Regions from separate parts of the Homo sapiens genome. Here all the other regions are linked to region 2. The links are contacts of gene promoters, found by promoter capture Hi-C in blood cells and fetal thymus (Javierre and others, 2016). All regions are on one chromosome and are shown on one strand. The core of a region is centred on a gene start or on the middle of the fragment in contact, and the rest is flanking DNA. Distances in the headings are between cores, read along the strand shown. Region 1 overlaps UQCRQ (ubiquinol-cytochrome c reductase complex III subunit VII). Region 2 holds the start of SLC22A4 (solute carrier family 22 member 4). Region 3 holds the start of ZCCHC10 (zinc finger CCHC-type containing 10). Region 4 has its middle 4.8 kb from the start of SOWAHA. Region 5 holds the start of FSTL4-AS1 (FSTL4 antisense RNA 1).

What was found. The method cuts DNA at HindIII sites, captures the fragments that hold promoters and counts their contacts. A CHiCAGO score of 5 or more calls a contact.
Region 1: a fragment that was not itself captured here is called in contact with the fragment with the promoter of SLC22A4 in region 2 in 1 of 17 cell types (monocytes); the score reaches 5.7 in monocytes.
Region 3: the fragment with the promoter of ZCCHC10 here is called in contact with the fragment with the promoter of SLC22A4 in region 2 in 1 of 17 cell types (neutrophils); the score reaches 8.0 in neutrophils.
Region 4: a contact is called between a fragment that was not itself captured here and the fragment with the promoter of SLC22A4 in region 2, in 1 of 17 cell types (monocytes). The highest score is 5.3, in monocytes.
Region 5: a contact is called between the fragment with the promoter of FSTL4-AS1 here and the fragment with the promoter of SLC22A4 in region 2, in 3 of 17 cell types (activated CD4 T cells, monocytes and total CD4 T cells). The highest score is 5.9, in activated CD4 T cells.

What each region holds. Positions count from the first base shown.
Region 1 is chr5:132,868,819-132,871,518 of GRCh38, forward strand. UQCRQ (ubiquinol-cytochrome c reductase complex III subunit VII) reads left to right here. Exons shown (of 3, transcript NM_014402.5): 3 at 1-29. Among named protein-coding and RNA genes, the nearest start is that of LEAP2, 3.5 kb to the right of the region's middle. The HindIII fragment of the contact is 612 bases long and covers 1,113-1,724 here.
Region 2 is chr5:132,293,036-132,295,735 of GRCh38, forward strand. It overlaps SLC22A4 (solute carrier family 22 member 4), which reads left to right and starts at 1,359. Exons shown (of 10, transcript NM_003059.3): 1 at 1,359-1,974. The coding sequence starts at 1,582. RefSeq lists enhancers at 332-950, 767-816 and silencers at 1,047-1,406, 1,477-1,526. The HindIII fragment of the contact is 9,593 bases long and covers 1-2,700 here.
Region 3 is chr5:133,025,184-133,027,883 of GRCh38, forward strand. ZCCHC10 (zinc finger CCHC-type containing 10) reads right to left here and starts at 1,366. Exons shown (of 5, transcript NM_001300816.3): 1 at 1,314-1,366. The coding sequence starts at 1,354. RefSeq lists an enhancer at 1,126-1,435 and a silencer at 1,516-1,645. The HindIII fragment of the contact is 6,187 bases long and covers 21-2,700 here.
Region 4 is chr5:132,807,136-132,809,835 of GRCh38, forward strand. No RefSeq gene overlaps it. Among named protein-coding and RNA genes, the nearest start is that of SOWAHA, 4.8 kb to the right of the region's middle. RefSeq lists a silencer at 1,342-1,636. The HindIII fragment of the contact is 2,105 bases long and covers 303-2,407 here.
Region 5 is chr5:133,255,122-133,257,845 of GRCh38, forward strand. FSTL4-AS1 (FSTL4 antisense RNA 1) reads left to right here and starts at 1,324. Exons shown (of 2, transcript XR_007058939.1): 1 at 1,324-1,397. The region is part of intron 6 of FSTL4 (follistatin like 4); the gene reads right to left. The HindIII fragment of the contact is 11,288 bases long and covers 1-2,724 here.

The DNA of each region.
Region 1 (2,700 bases), core at 169-2,668, 580 kb after region 2:
TTATGAATAAAGTTTACCCCTGATCTAAAGCCTTTAAATTATCTTTTTGGTATTAAAGATACCATTTTCCCTTCGCCCACCGAGAGATGGTGGGGGTAGGTGTGGTTGGCAGTTTTATGCCTCTAGTTCCTTAGAGAGGCTTCTCTCTAAGCTTCGGGACATGGATCTCACCTGTGGTAGCAGGTATGTGGAATATGATGAGTTGTCATAGCTCAGTCAGTACAGTATATGCTATGGGATCTGAGATCCGTTTTTAGAAACTCTTCTAAGGACTCTTCCTGCTAGCAGCAACTTTGATTCTGGGTCAGACTGTGTTTTTTTTTTTTTTTTTTTGAGATGGGAGTCTTGCTCTGTCACCAGGCTGGAGTTTAGTGGCGCAATCTCAGCTTACTGCAACCTCCGCTTCCCGGGCTCAAGTGATTCTCCTGCCTCAGCCTCCCAAATAGCTGGGACTACAGGCGCATACCAACACACCCAGCTAATTTTTGTATTTTTATTTTTTTTTTTAGTAGAGACGGAGTTTCACCATGTTGGCCAGGATGGTCTTGATCTCTTGACCTCGTGATCCACCTGCCTCGACCTCCCAAAGTGCTGGGATTACAGGTGTGAGCCACCGTGCCTGGCCAGACTGTATCTTTATTATCCTAATTACTGCTATTGCCTTTTAAGAATCAAAAGTTAAGATACTTCAAAACATGGCCGGATACAGTGGCTCACACCTGTAATCCCAGCACTTTGGGAGGCTGAAGTGGATGGATCACTTGAGGTCAGGAGTTTGAGACCAGCCTGGCCAACATGGTGAAACCCTGTCTCTACTAAAAATATAAAAATTAGCTGAGTGTGGTGGCACACGCCTATAATCCCAGCTACTCAGGAGGCTGAGGCAGAAACGCTTGAACCTGGGAGGTGGAGGTTGCAGTGAGCCAAGATTGTGCCACTGCACTCCAGCCTGGGTGACAGAGCGAGACTTCAAAACAAAACCTAAAAGATAAACTACATTGTGAGGCAGGATACGGGGAAAAGGCTGAGTCTTACAGTCTTGGGCTCGTCCTCTTAGCCCGTCACTTCCTCATTATGTGATATAGGCAAGAAACCTACTTTCATGAGCCTTAAGCTTCTCACCCATAAAATAGAAATATTATAAAGTTCTTGGGTTGTGGTGATGGTGAAATGAGTGACAAGTGTCTGGCAAGATGGTACGGGCTTAACACAGGGCAACTAACTGAGGAACTCTTCTACCTCACCCCCAAAAGACAGTCCAATTTTCCCATTTGCCTCTTTGTCCAGATTTATTCCCAGGTCTTGCAACATATTTGGGTCATAGACTTGAGAATGATGAAAACTGTGGACCCATCCTTACCTTGCATAGCTTCAAAGAGTTCACAGCCCAGAGGAGGACCACTGCTTTGAGAGGCCGTTAATGTCTTTCTCCCTCTGGTGTTTGCCCCAACCCGCCGAAGTAGACGGCCACCCTCTCCCATCTTGCTCACCTTGTTCTACACTTAGACTATTTCTCCCTGGTTCTTTGACTCCTTTGGAGAGACCAGCTCAAAAGATCCAAATCCCTTTTCTCAGCCCAAACCAGGCACCAAGCCTATTCTTTTTATTCCAGGAGTGCTCTACTGAGATGACTCTGCCGTAAGCCCTGTGATGTGTGGAGCTTCTGCTTTGGATGAAATTAGTCTGCTTTAAGCCTGTGTCTCATCAAAGGGCTTCCCTCTCTAAGCTTGGGGAAATGGATCTCACCTGTGTGGCAGGAGTGCTGAGGTGGTGGGTGTGTGGAATGTGGTGAGTTTTAGTAGTTCAGTGCTCCTATACATGACCTGGGATCATTTTAGGGGACATTTGCAGAAATCCTCAGAGGAGAACCTGAGTAAAACCTTTGAAGGAAAGACAGCTGCTGTGGGCTTCAGTGCTGGTAACCCATCTGGAGCCTCCAGTCCTGGGTATGGATCCCTTACCTGCTACTCTGGCACAACCATTTGCTCCATTTGACCTTTCTTTTTCCAAATGCTCCTGCCCCCACAAGCGTTTTTATCTATGGGCTGCAGAGTCTGATGAAAGGAATGCCCTTGCTCTTTTAGTTTGCAGGCAGTCCTCAAAATGCAGGCCTAAGGTAGGCCCAAAAGTCTATGCCAGTTCCAGCTAGCAAAAAAGCAAATACACCTTGACCTTTTGTTGAAATTTTACCTGGTAAAGTTTTTCCATTTCAGAGTCTTTCATCTTTTATTAGGCACCTCCTGCTTAGGGACAGCAAAAAGTTTCCAATTACTGCCAACTCCTAGTGATCGACCTGGAATGTGTTTCAAACAGCTGCTCATGTAGCTATACCCTCTTTCTCCCATTTCATCCTAAGCATTTGCCTCAGAAGCATAAAATCTCTTGAGAGTTGTATCCAGAGTTACCAAGCTCTCAGCTATCAAATCTGCTTCAGTCTCATTTTCTTCTTGTAAATTAGTCATTTGAACCCCCAAACTGACAGAATAGGAGACTAAAGCCCAAAAAGGGGAAGGGCTGGCCTATGGGCAGTTGCACTCTGTAGACCCCAGGCTACTGCTTACCAGCCAAGCATTCTACCTTCTTACGGCTGCAACTGTTAAAGGCTACTTAGGCCTTTCTATTGGATGAAGGAGCATGCAGTTACGTGTATATTCACTGAGCAAAATACTTGATTGTAGAATCCATGAAATTTTTTTTTTT
Region 2 (2,700 bases), core at 109-2,608:
CAGGATGTATAGTCTTATTACAGGTAGGAAACTGAGGTTCCAAGGGGGTGGGAAGTCCTCCTAAGAGGAGGGGTCAGACTGGAAGCTACACAAAAAGAGGCAGAAATGTCCCTCCGCCTCTTAATCGGAGCCTGGGGAAACAAACACACTCGTGCAAAATCTCCAAAGAGGTGAGCTCTTCACCCTGTCAATTTTATCTGCCTCGTGAACCCCAGGGCTCAGGCTCCAGGCCCGGGCTAGCTCACACAACAGCAGAAGGGCCTTAGGTCTGGGCACTGAGCCAAAAAAAGGGAGGCTGTGGTCCCTGCTTTGGTTACCCTGCCGGGTCTGAGCGCCAAATCGGATCTCCTACTTCTCTCTCCCTCCCTCCCTCTGTTCCTGGACTGGGGGCAGGCCCTTCTGCTAACAGAAAGCCTTCCAGTCGGAGAAAGCTCTGACAGCCTGCCGCGATAAAGGGCCCTGGGGGCGTGAGGAGAGCAAGGGGCTCAAAATCAGAACCCAGCGTGACGACAGTGCCTCCATGACTGTGCTCCCGCAATGCGCAGGCTCCATGTCCTGGCGCCCGCCCGCCCATGGACCCGGCGGGGGCTTCCAGGCTGGGCTCAGCCATTACGCCGGCGTGCGGGGGAGGAAACTCGCCTCCCGGGCACTCGGTTGTCTCCTGCCCCCGCCCCTCCCTCCGATCCGGGCCCATCTCTGACGTAGTGTGACCTTGCTCATCCCTTCCAGGCTGTGGGCCTGTTTTCCCTGTGCAAGATGAGGGTCCTGGCTGTCCTGAGGACGCTGTCCGGGCGCCGCCAGGGGTGACCGAATTCAGCTCTGCTAGGACTGTTGGGAAATGAGCTCCCTGTCGGCGTGTGCCAGCCGCCTGCGCGAGGCGCCACAGGAGAGGGCGCGCTCCTGTCGCTCTGCCGCCCCCAGAAGTTTCCCGGGAACCGACTCCACTGACTCGCCCCTCCGCGCCCCACGCGTGGCAGCCTAAGCTCAGCCTCCAGATTGGAGGAGACCGCGGAGGGAACCCTGCTGGGGTCTGGGCCCGGGGCCACGCGGCCCGAGCAGATCGAGGGCCGACCCCTCCGAGAACTCGCTCTCTGGCCTCGGCTCCTCCCTTGCGCCCGCCCTCCCACGTGGGGCCCAGGTCTGGGAATCAGCGCTCGGGGGTGGCTGGGGACAACCGAGAACGAGCTTCTTCCCCGGCACGCGGGCGGAATGGCTGAGCCCAGCCTGGAAGCCCCCGTCAGGTCCTTGGGGGCGGGCGGGCGCGCGAAGCACAGGGCGGAGACAGCCGGGAGCCCAGCCTCCCGGGCTGGGCCGCCCTCCCCTTCCCCGCGCCCGGCCGGGGATGGGGGTGTGGTCCCAAGTGTACAGTGGCATCAAGCTCAGCGCGAGCTCCCGGGAACGCTCCAACGCCTTCAGCCTGTTTCCCAGGAACGGTCCCCGGCTTCGCGCCCCAATTTCTAACAGCCTGCCTGTCCCCCGGGAACGTTCTAACATCCTTGGGGAGCGCCCCAGCTACAAGACACTGTCCTGAGAACGCTGTCATCACCCGTAGTTGCAAGTTTCGGAGCGGCAGTGGGAAGCATGCGGGACTACGACGAGGTGATCGCCTTCCTGGGCGAGTGGGGGCCCTTCCAGCGCCTCATCTTCTTCCTGCTCAGCGCCAGCATCATCCCCAATGGCTTCAATGGTATGTCAGTCGTGTTCCTGGCGGGGACCCCGGAGCACCGCTGTCGAGTGCCGGACGCCGCGAACCTGAGCAGCGCCTGGCGCAACAACAGTGTCCCGCTGCGGCTGCGGGACGGCCGCGAGGTGCCCCACAGCTGCAGCCGCTACCGGCTCGCCACCATCGCCAACTTCTCGGCGCTCGGGCTGGAGCCGGGGCGCGACGTGGACCTGGGGCAGCTGGAGCAGGAGAGCTGCCTGGATGGCTGGGAGTTCAGCCAGGACGTCTACCTGTCCACCGTCGTGACCGAGGTGGGTGCCAGGCCGAGACCGTTGACCCGGGAGTGCCTGACCCTCCCTCTGCGTCAGCCCCCCTTGAGACTCCCTGCGCAGTGCCCGGGTCAGCGCTCCCCTCCCCCTCAAACCTGCTGTTCATACTTCCAGCAGCGGGTGTGCACCCCAAGAAAGAATAGGACTCACGCGAGGCGCATTCCTGGGTCGTTTCTGTCCAATAAGGAGGTGATGGAGAAAGGAGTTTGTCACCAACTGTCTTTTCATTTCCGATTTTCACAACAAATGAAGTTTCCTAAGAACCTAGATGTTGCGTTGGGGGAAGCGCAGCCCCAGGCTACCCAGACGCACTGCCTGAGTCACCTTCCTGCCAGGCATGGGAGGAGGGGTGTGAGGGACCTTGTTACTGGGCAGGGCGGGGCCAAATCTTGTCTGTTCCCTGGCCACAGACTTCTGGAGGCATCAGGAGGTGTACTGCCGTACCATATACTTGTGAGGTTTGGGGTCCTTTCCTGAGGCCCCAGTTTCTCTAAGACAGCAGATGGCCTCCTGAGGCTCATTGGGTGCAAGGAAGCACAGAAGGCGAAACCCCAGCTGGAAGCCCTGGCCCTCAGGGACCTCTCTGAGCACAGGGTGAGTTGGCAGGCAGGGGCTGTAGCCCCTCAGCACCCTGCGTGGTTAGTGGCAGGTTTTCTAAGTTCCAGGAATGAGGATGCACACACACTTCTCCCGCTTTTGCTGCTTCAC
Region 3 (2,700 bases), core at 116-2,615, 730 kb after region 2:
CAAAGGCTGTTGGAAAAAAAAGCTTTATAAGAAAGGGGTTGCCGCGCGCGGTAGCTCACGCCTGTAATCCCAGCACTTTGGGAGGCCAAGGCGGGCGGATCTCGAGGTCAGGGGATCGAGACCATCCTGGCTAACACGGTGAAACCCCATCTCTACTAAAAATACAAAAAACCAGCCGGGCATGGTGGCGGGCGCCTGTAGTCCCAGCTACTCGGGAGGCTGAGGCAGGGGAACGGCGTGAACCCGGGGGGCGGAGCTTGCAGTGAGCCAAGATTGCACCTCTGCACTCCAGCCTGGGAGACAGAGCAAGACTCCGCCTCAAAAAAAAAAAAAAAAAAAAAAAAAAAAAAGAAAGGGGCATCTGGGGTGACCCTTGCATTATTTGTCAGCTATGAATCTCTTCTGCCACTCTCTCTTGTTCATTAGGCGTAATGGCTATCTTTCAGTTCTGTAAAAAGTAAGTTTCAGGCTCAAAGCAATTATGCCACTATCCGGATGCTCTTTCTCAAAATCCTCGTATGACTGTTCCTTTTTCATCCTTTAAATCTCTGTTCAAATTCCACCTCTTCAGAGATGCCTTTCCAGTCCAACCAACCTAAAGTGGGCCTTTCCCTCTTTCCATCACAACAGCTTACTTCCTTCAAAGCTGTTATCACCAGCTGTATTTACAATTTGTGGTTTATCGACTGTTTCCATCACTAGAATGTAAGCTCTCTGAAAGCAAGGATTTTGTCTTGAACACCTCTATTTATACCCAATGTCTGGCACAGAACGGTAGGAACTAAATAAATTAATATTTATTGAAAGAGAGAATGAGTAGCAAAAGGTGGTAAGATAGCCTGGGAAAGCAATCGGCATTGAAGGCAGGGTGTTCCTAAGGAAGGCGCTAGAATAAGGAAGTAGGAAAAGGCAGCTGGGCTGGACACTGAATAGGAAACTGAAGGTTTACGTCGGCTGGAATAAAGGTGTCGGACCGGGGCTTCAGGGCTCCCCTGTCCACGCGTGGGGTTGGCGGAGGGGCATAAATCACTGAGTGACCAACTGTGGGCGTTCCTTTCAGAGAAACCAAACGCGACAGTTGTCTTCAAACCCCGCTCTGTCCCGTGCCGCAGACTTTACGCGGCTGTCTTCCGCGAAATCGCTAACCCCCGGTCACCAGACTTATCGCCCGGGCCCGAGCCCCCCGGGAGCCAGAAGAGTGTTTGAGAAACGGACATTCTCCGCCGGTCCCAATAGGGGTCCGACACCAGCCCGTTGACGCGCGTTTCCCCGCTCCCAGCCCTCCAGTGGACCCGAACCGGATCCTTACTTACGCTTGTCTCCGGGCTATTAGCCGATGCATGGGAGTCGCCATCTTAGCGCGGTCAAAGCCGGCCGCGCAGGGTTTTGGGAAACTCCTCGGAAGGGCGGGGCTTCCAACCGGGAGGCCGTAGACGTAGGCGGGGCCAGACAGGCTTCTAAGGGGAGGTATCTTAGTGCCGGCTGGTGGGTCGGGAGGGGAGGGGCTGGAGGGTCGGGAGGGGAGGGGCTGGAGGGTCGGGAGGGGAGGGGCTGGAGGGGCTGGAGGGTCGGGACGGGAGGGACTGGTGGGTCGGGAGGGGCCGGTGTCTCCAGTATGGGTCTCGGGTTCTCGGGCCGAACAGGGTTTCAAAGGATGATTACAGGCAAGAACATTATCTGTGGAAAATGAGGACAACATTCTCGAACGAGGGATACACATACAAAGACAAAGAATGAAACTTTGGTGTTCAGAAAACTAGAAGTAGTCTGGAGAATAGAAAGGAATTAGTTGACCAGGATTGAGACCATCAATTGAAAGAATGACTTTAGCAAGCCATGGAGTGCAAACATATACGTTATTTCTGTTTTTTATGTATTTCACAGCGTTGTTACGAGTACTAAATGGGACTGTATAACTAAAGCTGCTTTATCAAGCAGAAAAGGACTATACAAATATTTTAGAATATTTTAGCTGCACCTACATCTAATGTCAGCTCACGGAGCTATTATTCTCTTAAAACCCACGTTCTCTGAAATATATATAATTTTCTGAAGTGTGTGTGTGTTTCTGGGTCATCCATATTTTTTCCTTTTTTTTTTAATTTGAGACAGAGTCTCGCTGTGTCGCCAGGCTGGAGTGCAGTGGCGCGATCTCGGCTCAGTGCAACCTCTGGGTCCCTGGTTCAAGAGATTCTCTTGTCTCACACTCCCGAATAGCTGGGATGACAAGCACGCGCCACCATGCCCAGCTAATTTTTGTATTTTTACTAGAGACAGGGTTTCACCATGTTGGCCAGGATGGTCTCGATCTCCTGACCTCATAATCCGCCCGCCTCGGCCTCCTAAAGTGCTGGGATTACAGGCGTGAGCCACCGCGCCCAGCCATATTTTTTCAATTAATAATTAACACTTAAAATGTTTTAGGAGCTGAGGACAGAGCATTTGAACAAATAAAATCCGTGTACACATGGAACTTTCTACAGACAATGAATGAAGACTATTCTCATGGGCATAAGTACTCTAACGAAAAATATTTCAGAGTAAGGGATTAAAGAGTGATTAGGAGTTAGGGAAGGTGATGATGTGACCTTTGAGCACAACTTGTTCTTCAAAAAAATAGGCTCTTACATGTTGTGTTCTCCAGCTTGATTTTTTCATTCCTCAGTGTACTTATGAAAATGTTTTCCCGGCCAGGCGCAG
Region 4 (2,700 bases), core at 105-2,604, 510 kb after region 2:
TGAAGCCAGGACACAGCTTTCCAAGTCTCCGTGGACCAGGTCTGTGGCTCCCTACTTAGCAACCAAGCAATAGTCTGAGCAATCAGAGAAGCAGCAGCCTGAAAAATGAACTGCAGAGTCAAAAACTCAGTCTACAGCAGAAACACGTGAGCTGACACTTTCACTCAGATTTAGAAATAAAGTTCTTTTGACCTTAGAGAGAAGTGGGCTTAACAAGCTGCAGGCATGAGAGAGGTCCCCTTTGCTTCCCCTGGGCTGGAAGCAAGAACAAAGCACGATTTGTTCCGGAAGTTGACCGCAAAAGCTTGATATCTGGGCAAAGTCCCTTTACAGCCACTGCTGGGCAGCCCATCCCCCTCAAGTCCCTGGAGCTCCTGCCTCCTGGGACCGGAGGAACTCTTCTTTACAGATGAGATGTATTGGTGAGACACCAGGGGGCAGAGGTGGCAGGCTGCGTTGGATAAACGCAATGGAAGGAGCTGATTTGCACTGCCATGGTAGGGGAGAAGACATTTACAAACATTAAGCATCCGCTACAGCTCTTGGTGGGGCCTAGGCATGGGGTTCAGAGGGTAGTGTGGATTGGAATAAGGAATAGAACAGAACAGAATACAGACCAGGCGTGATGGCTCACGCCTATAATCCCAGCACTTTGGGAGGCCGAGGTGGGCAGATCACCTGAGGTCAGGAGTTTGAGACCAGCCTGAACAACATGGTGAAACCCTGTCTCTACTAAAAACACAAAAATACCATTGGCAGGCATCTGTAATCCCAGCTACTCAGGAGGCTGAAGCAGGAGAATCACTTGAACCCAGGAAGCAGAGGTTGCAGTGAGCCAAGATCGTGCCATCGCACTCCAGCCTAGGGGACAAGAGCGAGACTTTGTCTCAAAAATAATAATATAAATGTAATGTAACATAGCATAAGATTATGAAATTATTTTATTTTATATTTAAATATTGTAGCTTTAAAAATTACAGAGGGCCTCTACCCTGATCTGCTTCATATTTAAGATACTGAGATAAGAACAAATAGCCTTCCTATTTCATTCTCCATGTTCAAGACACATCATGGAATTTTATCCTTGCTATAAATATACATTTTATATTTGATTTTCCTAATGTTGCGGGCAAACTGCTGGGTCACTGGAAGAATTGATTCTCTGGCCTCACTGGCAACAGGGCATCAAAACTGAAAAGCAGCCTGGGGAACTGGATGTCATTAGCATCCTCACTGTAATGTTTGCTCAAACTATAAACTTATCACTTAAAATATTAAAGCAGAGTATGTTCAGAAGCACAAGCATAAATAAAAGTTTAAGTAAGGTATTTGTGAGGAGTTTTTCCCTACTTTATTTATTAAACATTCAGAACATCAATTTTAAATCATCAGTGACCTAACTTTGCATGGTAAATGAGCATAGGCAGGTAGCCTGGGGTTCCAGTTTGAGCTCAGCCAATTGTTAACTGTGACCTTGGCCAAGTTTCCTTATGTAGCTCAGAGCCTGAAGCCTGTTAAGCACTGTCAATAAACGGCTTGTACTAGCAATTCCTGTTCAATCAGTATTTAATCCTTGTCTACTCTTAGCGATCATGAAACCACCATTGCAAAATTATAACTGAGACAGTGAAAGAGATCTGATCTTACTAACTCCATCTTGCTTCTAACCTCCAAGTTGTCCTTGTTCATTCCTGAGCATAGGCCAAATTAACTTTGGGAGAAACTTAGTTTATAGTTTGAAACAAAGATGGTAACAGCCCTTTCCCAAAATGAACTAGACTGCCTTTGTAGAATTAACAAATTAGCCAAAAGATTAGATTATGGTTTAGAAGTCAGGCAGCTGGAGGCTGCAAGATTCTAAACCTCCCCAAATTGCCCCTGGGGATAACGTCACTATTGTGAAGCCTAAGATCAGTTCTTGAGATATTTTGCAGACCCTGTACTTGATGCATCAGCTGGCACCACCCAGGCTCGTAAACTGGCTCATCTGGTCTTGTAGCCCCCACCCAGGAGCTGACTCAATGCAAGAGGACAGCTTCAACTCCCTGTGATTTCATCTCTGACCTGACCGATCAGAACCCCCAATTCACTGGCCCCCCTACCCACCAAATTATCCTTAAAAACTCCAGTCCCTAAATTCTCAGGGAGACTGATTTGAGTAATAATAAAACTCTGGTCTTCTTGCACAGCCAGCTCTGTGTGAATTACTCTTTCTCCATTGCAATTCCCCTGTCTTGATAAATCGGCTCTGTCTAGGCAGTGGGCAAGGTAAATTAATCCATTGGGGGGTTACAATCATAGTCAAAATTAGTTCAAACCACATAAATCAATAATGATCTTTAACAGAGAGTGCTCTCCCTCATCTCTCTTCTTGGAGACAAGAGATGGTAACAAAAGTCCAAGTTGAAGCTTCACTACCTATGAGATCATGGAAATGACTTTTCAAGGAACACAACAATTGGCCCAGAAAAAGGTAGGAAAATAAAATATAAAAAGTAGCTATTGAAATGAAAATTAAAACAAAGGGAATATAACTTTAAAAGTGAAAACAAGACAATATAATGCAAGTTCTGTTTCTGAAGTATCTTTGGCACCCATCCACTGTCCGAGCTTGATAAGCCCTACCGTCTTCCACTGGACCCTGCCACTACCTCCCCAGGGTCCCCTCTTCCGCCCATTCGCCACACCAGTCTTGACTAA
Region 5 (2,724 bases), core at 74-2,573, 960 kb after region 2:
CCAAACGTGATATGCCCAGCACTCAGAGTGTGATCAGGGGTCAGTGAGAGAGGGCTCAGCCAGACGCTGTGTCTGGGGTGAGAATGTGTCTACACACTGAGGCTGGTGTCTTTGGAAAGAGAGGGCTGGGTTGGGGGTCAGAGCAGCCCATCAGGGAGCTTGTCTGGCACTACTGGGCAGAAGTCTGTGCCCACAGAGGGACTGACGCCCTGCTATGAGAACTGACATTGGAGAGCTGCTCTGCAAGTAGGGAATCTGAGGAGGGCAAGGGAGTTGGGGGGTTCTCAAAGCTCAGGGCTTCCCATGATATCCCCCTGGGATGAAAACAAATGGGTCACACTGCAGTGATGGCCCAAGTCAGTGTGGGTTGGTTGGCACAAGACAGAGCTTCCTGGACCACTAGCTAGGCTGCGTGTCCCACAGTGGGATTCTGGGCAGGGCTGTCTGGCACTCTGGTGCCTAGCACAAGGCATGGCACACAGTAGGTGGGCTCAAGGCCATGACCTATCTCTCTAGGCCCTTCAAACCAGTGCAGTAGCATACCCTTGGTTTTCCAGACATGAGATGCCACAAACACCCGTCCTCACCTTTCTCCCTGAGTCTTGGAGCTTGGAGAGAAGAGGCAGTCACAGGGAATTAATGGGCTTACCATAAGCAGGCTAACAAACACCCTTCCTGAAAGCAGGAGGCCATAACATTTCAGTTGTTGGAGAACTGGGTTTTAGTTCCTATTACAGGTTTCCCTTAATCTCAGGCGCTATTTCTCACACTGACTTGAACTCGATAAGACACTCATAAACCCATCAGCACCCTCTCAAACAGGATTCTGGTGCTTTGTAGTGATAGAAATTAAATTTCTCAAATTCTTGTCAAGCTGGTGTTAGTTTTCTTATGTCAGAAACACACTAATGGAACACATTCCTACTTGGATATTTGCCATTTTTCAAATGATGCCATTGGTGAAAAAAACCCTGTCAAAAGCTCAGTAACCTGCCTGCACATCAATATTTTTGACTGAGCCTCGGAGGGCAAACTCAGGCTCAGGGGCCTGCTTGGGAATGAGGGCAATTTGGAGAGAGCACAGGCCAGGCGCTTAGACACATCTCTCTAACTGCGGCCTCTTCCCACATTATTCTCCTTCTAAATTAATGTGCTTTCCTGAAACAAACCCCTCAGGTGACCTAGGTGCCACCAAAGAAGCTGGGGCATTGGAGTGACAAAGTCTATTGATCTGGTCCCATCCCTGTGACCAGAGTCACACTGTGAAGTTGGCGAGTAGGGGAGGAGCCAAGGGGGAGTGCGCATGCCCAGTGTCTCCTGAACAAACAGGGCAACATCTCCCGGACCTTGTGACTTTGGCTGGTGTTTACAGAGTGAAGCTGCTTTGGCGTATCCTGGTGAGCCGGGCAAGGCGGGTGGGAGGGATGGTGTGCTTTTTGTCTCCTCTGTTCCGTCTACCAGAGATTGTCACTCTGGGATCCTTTCAAATAACTGCTGAATGTTTGTGGATGGGAGGCTGGGGACAGGATGTCTTAAAGCCTTTCATCTTGACATTCCTGTTTAGAGCACCAGGGTGCATCCAGCCTGCACAGGTGGCTCTGTATTAGCCAGACTTGCTCCAAAGCCACACAAGAGAGCACTTGCATCTGTCCCAAATCTCCTGTTTCCTTACGTGTAACCAGATTCAATCTTCCTGCCATTGTCATTCCCTCTTGCTTGCTTCATTTTGGGGATGGCAATAAAATTACTAGTTAATTACCTGCGGGTCAGTGGGTAATTTACTTTTTCAACTGGCCTATGTTGCTTGATGTTGCTTCAACTTTTATTACAGTTTAGTTATCAAGTTCTGCTCTCTGGTGTGAACAAACACCTTTGTAAGCTGCATAAAGGCAGAGACTATATCTGTTTTATTTATGTTGTATCCCCAGCACCTAATACAATGCCTACCACGCAGAAGGGACTTAATAAGCAGTTTTAAGCAAGTGAACTATTAGGCTAGTGCTCAGTCAACAATTATTTATGGAGCTGGTACCAGGAGCCAGGATACAGTGGGAATATACTGGCAAGAAAAACAGGCCCAGTGCTTGCTAACCTGGAGCTCATGGCTTAGCAGAGAAGACAAGTGTTAAGTGGGGAGGGAGAGCAGAGGCCTGAACCTGTCTACAGACCCCAGGTTAAGGGCCCGTGACTCCTGTAAAGCCTGGTTGCCCTCTTTCTTGGTAGAGCCCTCCCTGTGTGCCTGGCAGACCTGTGTCCTGCTATCGAGACATCCTAGTCTGATGTAGTATCCTCCTTGTTTGCAGGAGGGGCCGGCCTGTGCAGGGGCAGGGTTACCTGGGCATCCCTCTAGGCTCTGGGGTTCCATTTAGCCTCCTCTGGCCAATACACCTTTTTAGTTTTGAGAAAACTAAACCTCAATGTGACTGCTGTGTGCAGACGAACAGGAAGTTAGAGCAGAACTCAGTGCCCAGGGGCTGTGAGATCACCATTCTGGGTATCATGGGGTGCCACAGTGTGGCAGGCAGGAGAGGCATCCATCAGAAGGAGCAAAGGGTCCTTGCTGAGGTGGAGAGCACAGGGCCTCCTGGTCAGCAGGAGCATGGCTGTCACAGTGCTGCATACCAGCTCTTCCACCTCCGCTGGTTCCTGTGTGTGGGGTAGCCTTGGTCAGCTTGGCCACTCTATGGGTCTCTCCCACCCTACTGAGTCTACACCCAAAGATGA